Linked DNA regions of Homo sapiens: region 1 is linked to region 2. The links are contacts of gene promoters, found by promoter capture Hi-C in human tissues and cell types (Jung and others, 2019). All regions are on one chromosome and are shown on one strand. The core of a region is centred on a gene start or on the middle of the fragment in contact, and the rest is flanking DNA. Distances in the headings are between cores, read along the strand shown. Region 1 has its middle 33 kb from the start of POLD3. Region 2 holds the start of P4HA3 (prolyl 4-hydroxylase subunit alpha 3).

Evidence for each region. Contacts are between HindIII fragments. The study calls those that stand out against the background at their distance.
Region 1: a fragment that was not itself captured here is called in contact with the fragment with the promoter of P4HA3 in region 2 in 2 of the 25 tissues and cell types used here (IMR-90 fibroblasts and mesendoderm cells).

Annotation. Positions count from the first base shown.
Region 1 is chr11:74,558,004-74,561,318 of GRCh38, forward strand. No RefSeq gene overlaps it. Among named protein-coding and RNA genes, the nearest start is that of POLD3, 33 kb to the right of the region's middle. The HindIII fragment of the contact is 3,664 bases long and covers 1-3,315 here.
Region 2 is chr11:74,309,677-74,313,169 of GRCh38, forward strand. P4HA3 (prolyl 4-hydroxylase subunit alpha 3) reads right to left here and starts at 1,964. Exons shown (of 13, transcript NM_182904.5): 1 at 1,736-1,964. The coding sequence starts at 1,935. It overlaps P4HA3-AS1 (P4HA3 antisense RNA 1), which reads left to right and starts at 1,686. Exons shown (of 7, transcript NR_120556.1): 1 at 1,686-1,773; 2 at 2,149-2,270; 3 at 2,443-2,543. The HindIII fragment of the contact is 9,884 bases long and covers 1-3,493 here.

The DNA of each region.
Region 1 (3,315 bases), core at 295-2,794, 250 kb after region 2:
CAGTCCATAACAGAGGGCCATGCGACAAAGTATTTTGAGTGGCCTATAGGAGCTGAGAGTGGTCCCCGGCTGATAACCAGCAGGACAATGGTGACCTCAGTCCTACAACCATAAGGAACTGCATTCTGCCAATAACCAGTGAGCCTGAAGGAGAACCCTGAGCCCTATACATGACCAGCACTTTCAGTCCAGCCTGCTGAGATCCTGAGCAGAGAATTGAGTCATGCCCTACGTCGACTTCTGGTATACAGAAGCAGAAATAATAAATTTGTAATAAGTGGCTAAGTTTGTGATAATTGTTTATGCATCAGTATAAAATTGTTTATTATCAATACAAAAATAATATAAATTTTATAATATATATTTTTAAGGAAAAAATACAAAATTACAAATACAAAATCTGTGAGACTAAAGAGGTCTGTAAGTGAGGAACCCTGAAATTTAAGCTTCATTAGTTTCAAGGTAAGTCTGTCTCTGCCTCCAAGAAGGAGAGAAGATGAAGGAAAAAGAGTGTCAACTACAATACGATGTTGCTGTTTTGGGCAGGACAAATGCCCAAAACCAATTCTATCTCTTTGAAAGGCTTTAGGGGAACCTTTAAGGGATCCTCCCTTGGAGCCCCCAACTATACTTCCCTTGAGAAGCAAAGCTTCTCCTCTGGCTTGGCTCCTGAACTTTAGCAGTCCATCTTCTCTGTTGGGGTCCCAGTGCCCTCAGTGCAATTCTTTTGAGGACAGACCTGTTTTAGGAAGATCCTAGGTCAGATCCCTTCTTCCAGGTCTACCTCAGTTCCTAGGAAAAACCTGCTTTTGCCCCATGGCCAGTGGGAGAAGGGTTTGCTCTCAGCCCAACCATCTCTCTCTAGTCCTACAAATTCCATTCAGTCTCTAATATTTAAATTCCTCAAGAATATGTCAAACTCCATATCTTATGATTCCCAAACTTCAGTGCAACATGTCAAGCTCTCTGAGTGGTTTTCTTGAAGTCCCCAGTTTCCTTTGGCTTAAGGAAGGAGGAGAATATGGCTCCCCTCCCCTGTGTACCGATTGTCACCCAGTTATTAACAGAAAGAATAGGGATTCAGGAACCCTGAGCTCTAGTCTGGGTTCTGATACTAACTCACTGTGTGTCCTTGGGAAATGTCCTTTTCCATTTCGGGCCTTGCTTTCCTGACAGCTCACTTAAATGAAAATGTAGGACTAGATCCACTCATTTATTCAGTAAATGTTTATAGAGTCCCTATTACGTGTCAGGAACTGTCTGGGTATGAGGAATCATCAGAAAACAAACTAGCTGACTTCTCAGGCCCTACCAGCCCTCACATTCTCTGATGCTTCTCCCCCACCTAGTTCCCACTCACCCCTCAACAATGAGTGGTCAAGTTCTGGCTGCGATCATGACTGCTTTTCCACCTCAGCAGTGTATAGCCTCTTCTTGCAGGGATATTTATTTATTTATTTATTTATTTCTGACAGGGTCCTGCTCTGTTGGGTGCAGTAATGCGATCAGGGCTCACTACAACCTGGACCTCCTGGGCTCAAGTGATCCTCCTGCTTCAGCCTCCCAAAGTGCTGAGATTATAGGTGTGAGCCGCCATGCCCAGCCCACAGGGACCTTTGATGGGACTAGGGGTAAGCTTCCTTTGAAGGCAGCATTGCTGTTTTGGTTACTGCCCATCAACCTGGGCTGTCTGGCCTGGAAGTACTGCCTGGCCAACGACAATGGAAAGGTTTATTTGCAGAGGCCAGGAAGTCCCCATGACCCCTCTCCATTCACCTCTGAGACAGGAAGCCCCAGGAGGAAAAAACAAAAGATGAAATGCTGGCTGACTTCCCAGCTTCCAAGTGCTCAGCCGCACTCTGGACTGGAGGATCCCTTCTGCCCAGTGGACAGGGACCTCTTTCAGCAGCTCCTTCCTTGTCATTGATCCCCAGGGCTTCAGTTCCTGTCCTGAGGATCCAGAAGGACTTAGGTGACGTAAAAGAGGTATGAAATGAAGATTGAGTCTCTGGGAAAGGATGCATGATGTCTTATCCTAAGCTAAGCCTCCATGTCTGGGAAGTGGGGGGAGGCTGAATGCACAGAGTGGGAAAAATATTCTCAGTGGTTAAGGAAGCAAGTGACTCACCTGCTCTGACCTTCATCCATCCACTCCCATGGCCAGAGTGACTTCAGGGAGGAGGTGGGGTGGAAGAGATTTCCAAGTCTCGTTTTTTTTTTCTTGAGTTTTTTAAGACCTCTTACTTATGATGCCCCTTCCATCCATCACACTTCTCCCAACAGCTTAGCTAACCTGCCTGGAAAAAACAGTCATCAAAAAGCACACAGCATGCTAAGTAGAAAATGAAAAAGCAGGAGGTGCCTCCACTCTTCCAGCAGCTTTTCCACTGGGTTCTGTGCCTAAGGAGTTGCTCCCTCCAGTCCGCAGAGTAGCTGGAATGCATTTTCAAAATTCAACTTTAAAAACTGAAGTGGTCGGGCGCGGTGGCTCACACCTGTAATCCCAGCACTTTGGGAGCTGAGGTGGGTGGATCATCTGAGGAGCTCAAGACCAGCCTGGCCAACATGGTGAAACCCCGTCTCTACAAAAAATACAAAAATTAGCCGGGCGTGGTGGCAAGCACCTATAATCCTAGCTACTCGGGAGGCTGAAGCAGGAGAATCGCTTGAACCCGGGAGGCGGAGTTTGCAGTGAGCTGAGATTGCGCGACTGCACTCCACCCTGGGCAACAAGAGCGAAATTCCATCTCAAAACAAAAAACAAAATCAAAAACAAAACTGAAGTATAACATTCATAGAAAAGTACATAAATCATACGTGTACAGTTCAATAAATTTTGAGAAAGTGCACCTCCATGTAACCAACACTCAGGAGGAGAAATAGAACATGACCAGCAGCTCAGAAGCTCCTTTGTGCCTCCTTCCAGCCACTTCACCCTGCAAAGCTAAATGCTGTCCTGAATTCTAACGTCAAAAATTAGATTTGCCTGTTTTTGAACTGTTAAGTAGAATCACATAGTATGTGTTCTTTTGTGTCCAACTTCTTTTTTTTTTTTTTTTTTTTTTTTGAGACGGAGTCTTGCTCTGTCACCCAGGCTGGAGTGCAGTGGCGCTATCTCGGCTCACTGCAAGCTCTGCCTCCCGGGTTCACGCCATTCTCCTGCCTCAGCCTCCCAAGTAGCTGGGACTACAGGTGCCCACCACCACGCCCGGCTAATTTTTTGTACTTTTAGTAGAGACGGGGTTTCACCGTGTTAGCCAGGATGGTCTCGATCTCCTGACCTCGTGATCCGCCCACCTCGGCCTCCCAAAGTGC
Region 2 (3,493 bases), core at 714-3,213:
ATACTAGACAACTATGCTATTCCAAAGAGTGACAATAATTATTGAAATGATCTTCATTTATTGTTAAAATTAATACATACCTATATTGTATATTGTCACACTATTTCAAGCTGTTTATACGCAAGCCACATACTTAAGGACAAGCACCACATTAGCTCATTCAGTCACTATTAACAAGATCTCTCGCAAATACTTTCCACCCACAAAATGCTTCTCTTCTACATAGCTCTCTCTCACAGTCATGGGGTCACAAAGTTTCGCACAGGGTGACAATGGGTTTGGGGGTCACACTGGACCTCAGAGTCACTCCCCATTCCACATACCTTCTTCTCATGTCACCCCAGAATCAGTATTATTACCACACACACTCACGCAAAGTTTTAAAAGCAGTGCATTGTGCTGTCTTTGCTCAATGATAAGGTCACATGATATAAGTACAATATTAATATATCCAAATAGTGACGTGGTCATAACCACTCTGTCAGTGTTGTAGGCTTCTTGATGTCCCAGGCAGAGAAGGCGCAGCACATATTCATACAGATGGTATCATATACAATCATTTATCTTTCATTTTTGTCAGTTGGACACTGCTAAGTCGATACATGACTATGGTGCCTCAGCATCCCAAGTCTGACAACCTTTTATGCCACAGTGTGTAGCACTAGAGTTTGTTGACTGTACCCCAAAACTATATTAGCTGAGCATCCACTGCTGTGTGCTACACTCAGTATCTTCTGCATCAAGTATGTTTTTTCACAGTGCTTTTTTGATATCAAATATGTTGACACACATATAACATCTCAGTTATCATTTATTTAGTATTTAGAGAGCTTCTACATGTGTAAAGAGAAGGAAGAACTGAAGACGTAGACGGCAGTGGACATCTCTGATTAACAGTCATGGTGCTACAGACCCAAACTCCTCGAGGGCAGAGTTGGCTCTTGATCACCATTTTATCCCCACTGCCTGGAACACTGCCTGGCTCTTAGTAGGCACTCAAAAATATGTGTTGTATGAATTAATGAACTGAAGCATTATTCATATAGCGACCTGTACAGTTACTCAGCATCATTCACATGCAGAGTATGATATCCACAGTGTCGTGCCCATCCAGTCCCAATGACATGTAAACCTCACATATGGTGGAAGACTGTCACCTGACTCCTAACACTAAACATCAGCTCACTAGGTCATGCGGTGTTTCACGATCCCCCCTTGAAAGGTCAATACTTGCGTAGCTAAAGCGTCACCGTATTCTCTCCATGTCACTCTCACAGTGTCTCTGTCACAGCACCGTCCACTGTGTCTGTGTCAGTGTGACACAGGGCCTGGGGCTCACACAGCTTTGCACAGCACATTGTGAGGTCCTAGAGTCACCCCGCCCCGCTCTTCCACAGTGTATCAACTTTGCTGTGTGACGCTGGATATGGGGGGTGCCACTATGTGTGTGATGGAGTCTGCAGTCCCAGTGTGACCCAACCCTCGCCAACACCTCATGCCACGGAGTGTCAGGGTCCCACACAGGGTGACAATGGGTCTAGGGGGTCACACTGGCCCTCAGAGCCACTCCCCACCCCATGCCACAATGTCTCAGTCGCACGGTGCGACAGTGGGTCTGGGGTCCCACGCAGCATGACAATGAGCCTGGGGTCACACTCAACCTGAGTCACCCCACCCTGCGGCACAGTGTATCCCACTGAGGCCCCTCGGTCGCTCCCACTCGTCGTGCCCTCACCTAGTCAGGTCCCGCAGCCGCGCCTCCTCCCCGCGCAGGTACCGCCTCAGCAGCCCCAGCAGCCGGCGCTCGGGCGCCAGGGCGCGCGCCACGCTGGTCAGCGCCGAGAACGTGTCGCCCCGAGCCGCAGCCCTTTCTGGGTCTCCTGTCCCGAGCGCCAGCACCGCCAGCAGCGCCGCCAGCCGCGCCCCAGGACCCATAGCCAGCGCTCGCGAACTTCCCCTCAGACAGTCCTGGCCGCGCGGCGGCAGCCGCTCCCGCCCTCGCCTGCCCCGCCCCTGTCTCCGCCCCCTCCCGGCTCAGGCCCCGCCCTCTGGCCCCGGCCCGGCCCGTCCCGTCCACCGCCCAGTCTCGCTCCACGCCCCCTGACTCCTTCCTTGTTTCGACGCCTCACCTCGCTCTCTATTCCTCAGCTCCTCGGAATGCGTGGGGGCTTCCTGCAACATCAGTCTCCGCCGCCCTCCACTAAATCGCGACCCTGGGAAGGTGTTTCCACTGTGCCCATCACACTAGGGGAAATTGAGGCGGAGGCAGGGTGAGCGATGAATTCACAGGTCTAAGGCTGTGACTATCCCCAAATATTGTTAACACCACGCTCACAGGATCCCCAAAATATCCGCCCCTCTGTACCATGGAGTGGGAATACACAAACACCACTGGATCCCCACAGGGACGTCCAGAAGAGTCAATTATGCGTATGTGAATAGGTGCGCAGGCAAAGAGCGGCAAGAGGACAGCTGGGAGGAAAACCCTCACAGAGAGCGTGACATCTGAGCCATCTGAAGGATAAGTAGGACTGTGTCAGGATGTGAGTATATGACAAATCTAGGACTTACAGAACCTGAAGCTCTGGGGTCCTAAAGTCACTGCTTTACACAATATACTTAGAGTCACTTAAGCAAATAAAAATATTATTATTATTATTATAGCCTACTAGGCTATGTACTCTATTTCCCCCCTCTTATGCATTTCCCAGGCAATGTTCATTCATGCAACAAATATTTATTAGTACCTGTGTTACTGTGCTGCCTACACAGAGAAATAGCAGATCCAATCCTGGACTCAAAGGAGGAGACAGTTATGTAAACAAGTAATCACAATAAAGTGCTGTCAGAGTAACTGAGGGTTGTGCAATATGCAATGGCAACACTGAAGAAGGAACCCTCATGTAGTGGGTGGAGAGGGCATCAGAGAGGAGGTGATGGGTGCTGGTTCAAAAGGATGAAAAAAATTGGAAGTTGACAGGCAAGGGAGGAGTGGGCTTTCCTGGCAGAAGGTACATGGGCGTGACAAGGTTTGGAGGTGGAAAACAGTTTGAGTTCCAGAAATGATGAAAAGTTTCTTGTGCTTGAAACTATCAGATTGTGAAAGGTCTTTGCATGTCATACTAAGAAATTTAGGTGCTTGTCCTCTATGAAAATCCAGTGGAAGTTTTTAAGGTAGCAATAATTGTAATAACAATGGCAACAGTAAACATAGTAGTTAATACTTACCGGGTGTTTCCTGTGTGGCAGTCGCCATCCAGAGTATTTTACATATATTAACTCATTTAATCGCTGTCCAGAGTATTTTACATGTATTAACTCATTTAATTCTCATGCTGACCCTATAGCCTAAGTAATATTAGTATTCTTACAGTATTATTGGCCCCACTTTACCGATGAGAAGACTGAATTGTAGGGACAATCATTAACCTACTCAGTGTTAATCACTTGTGGACCACATTCGAGGTGTGCTGGTAAACCAGCTCTCCAGGAA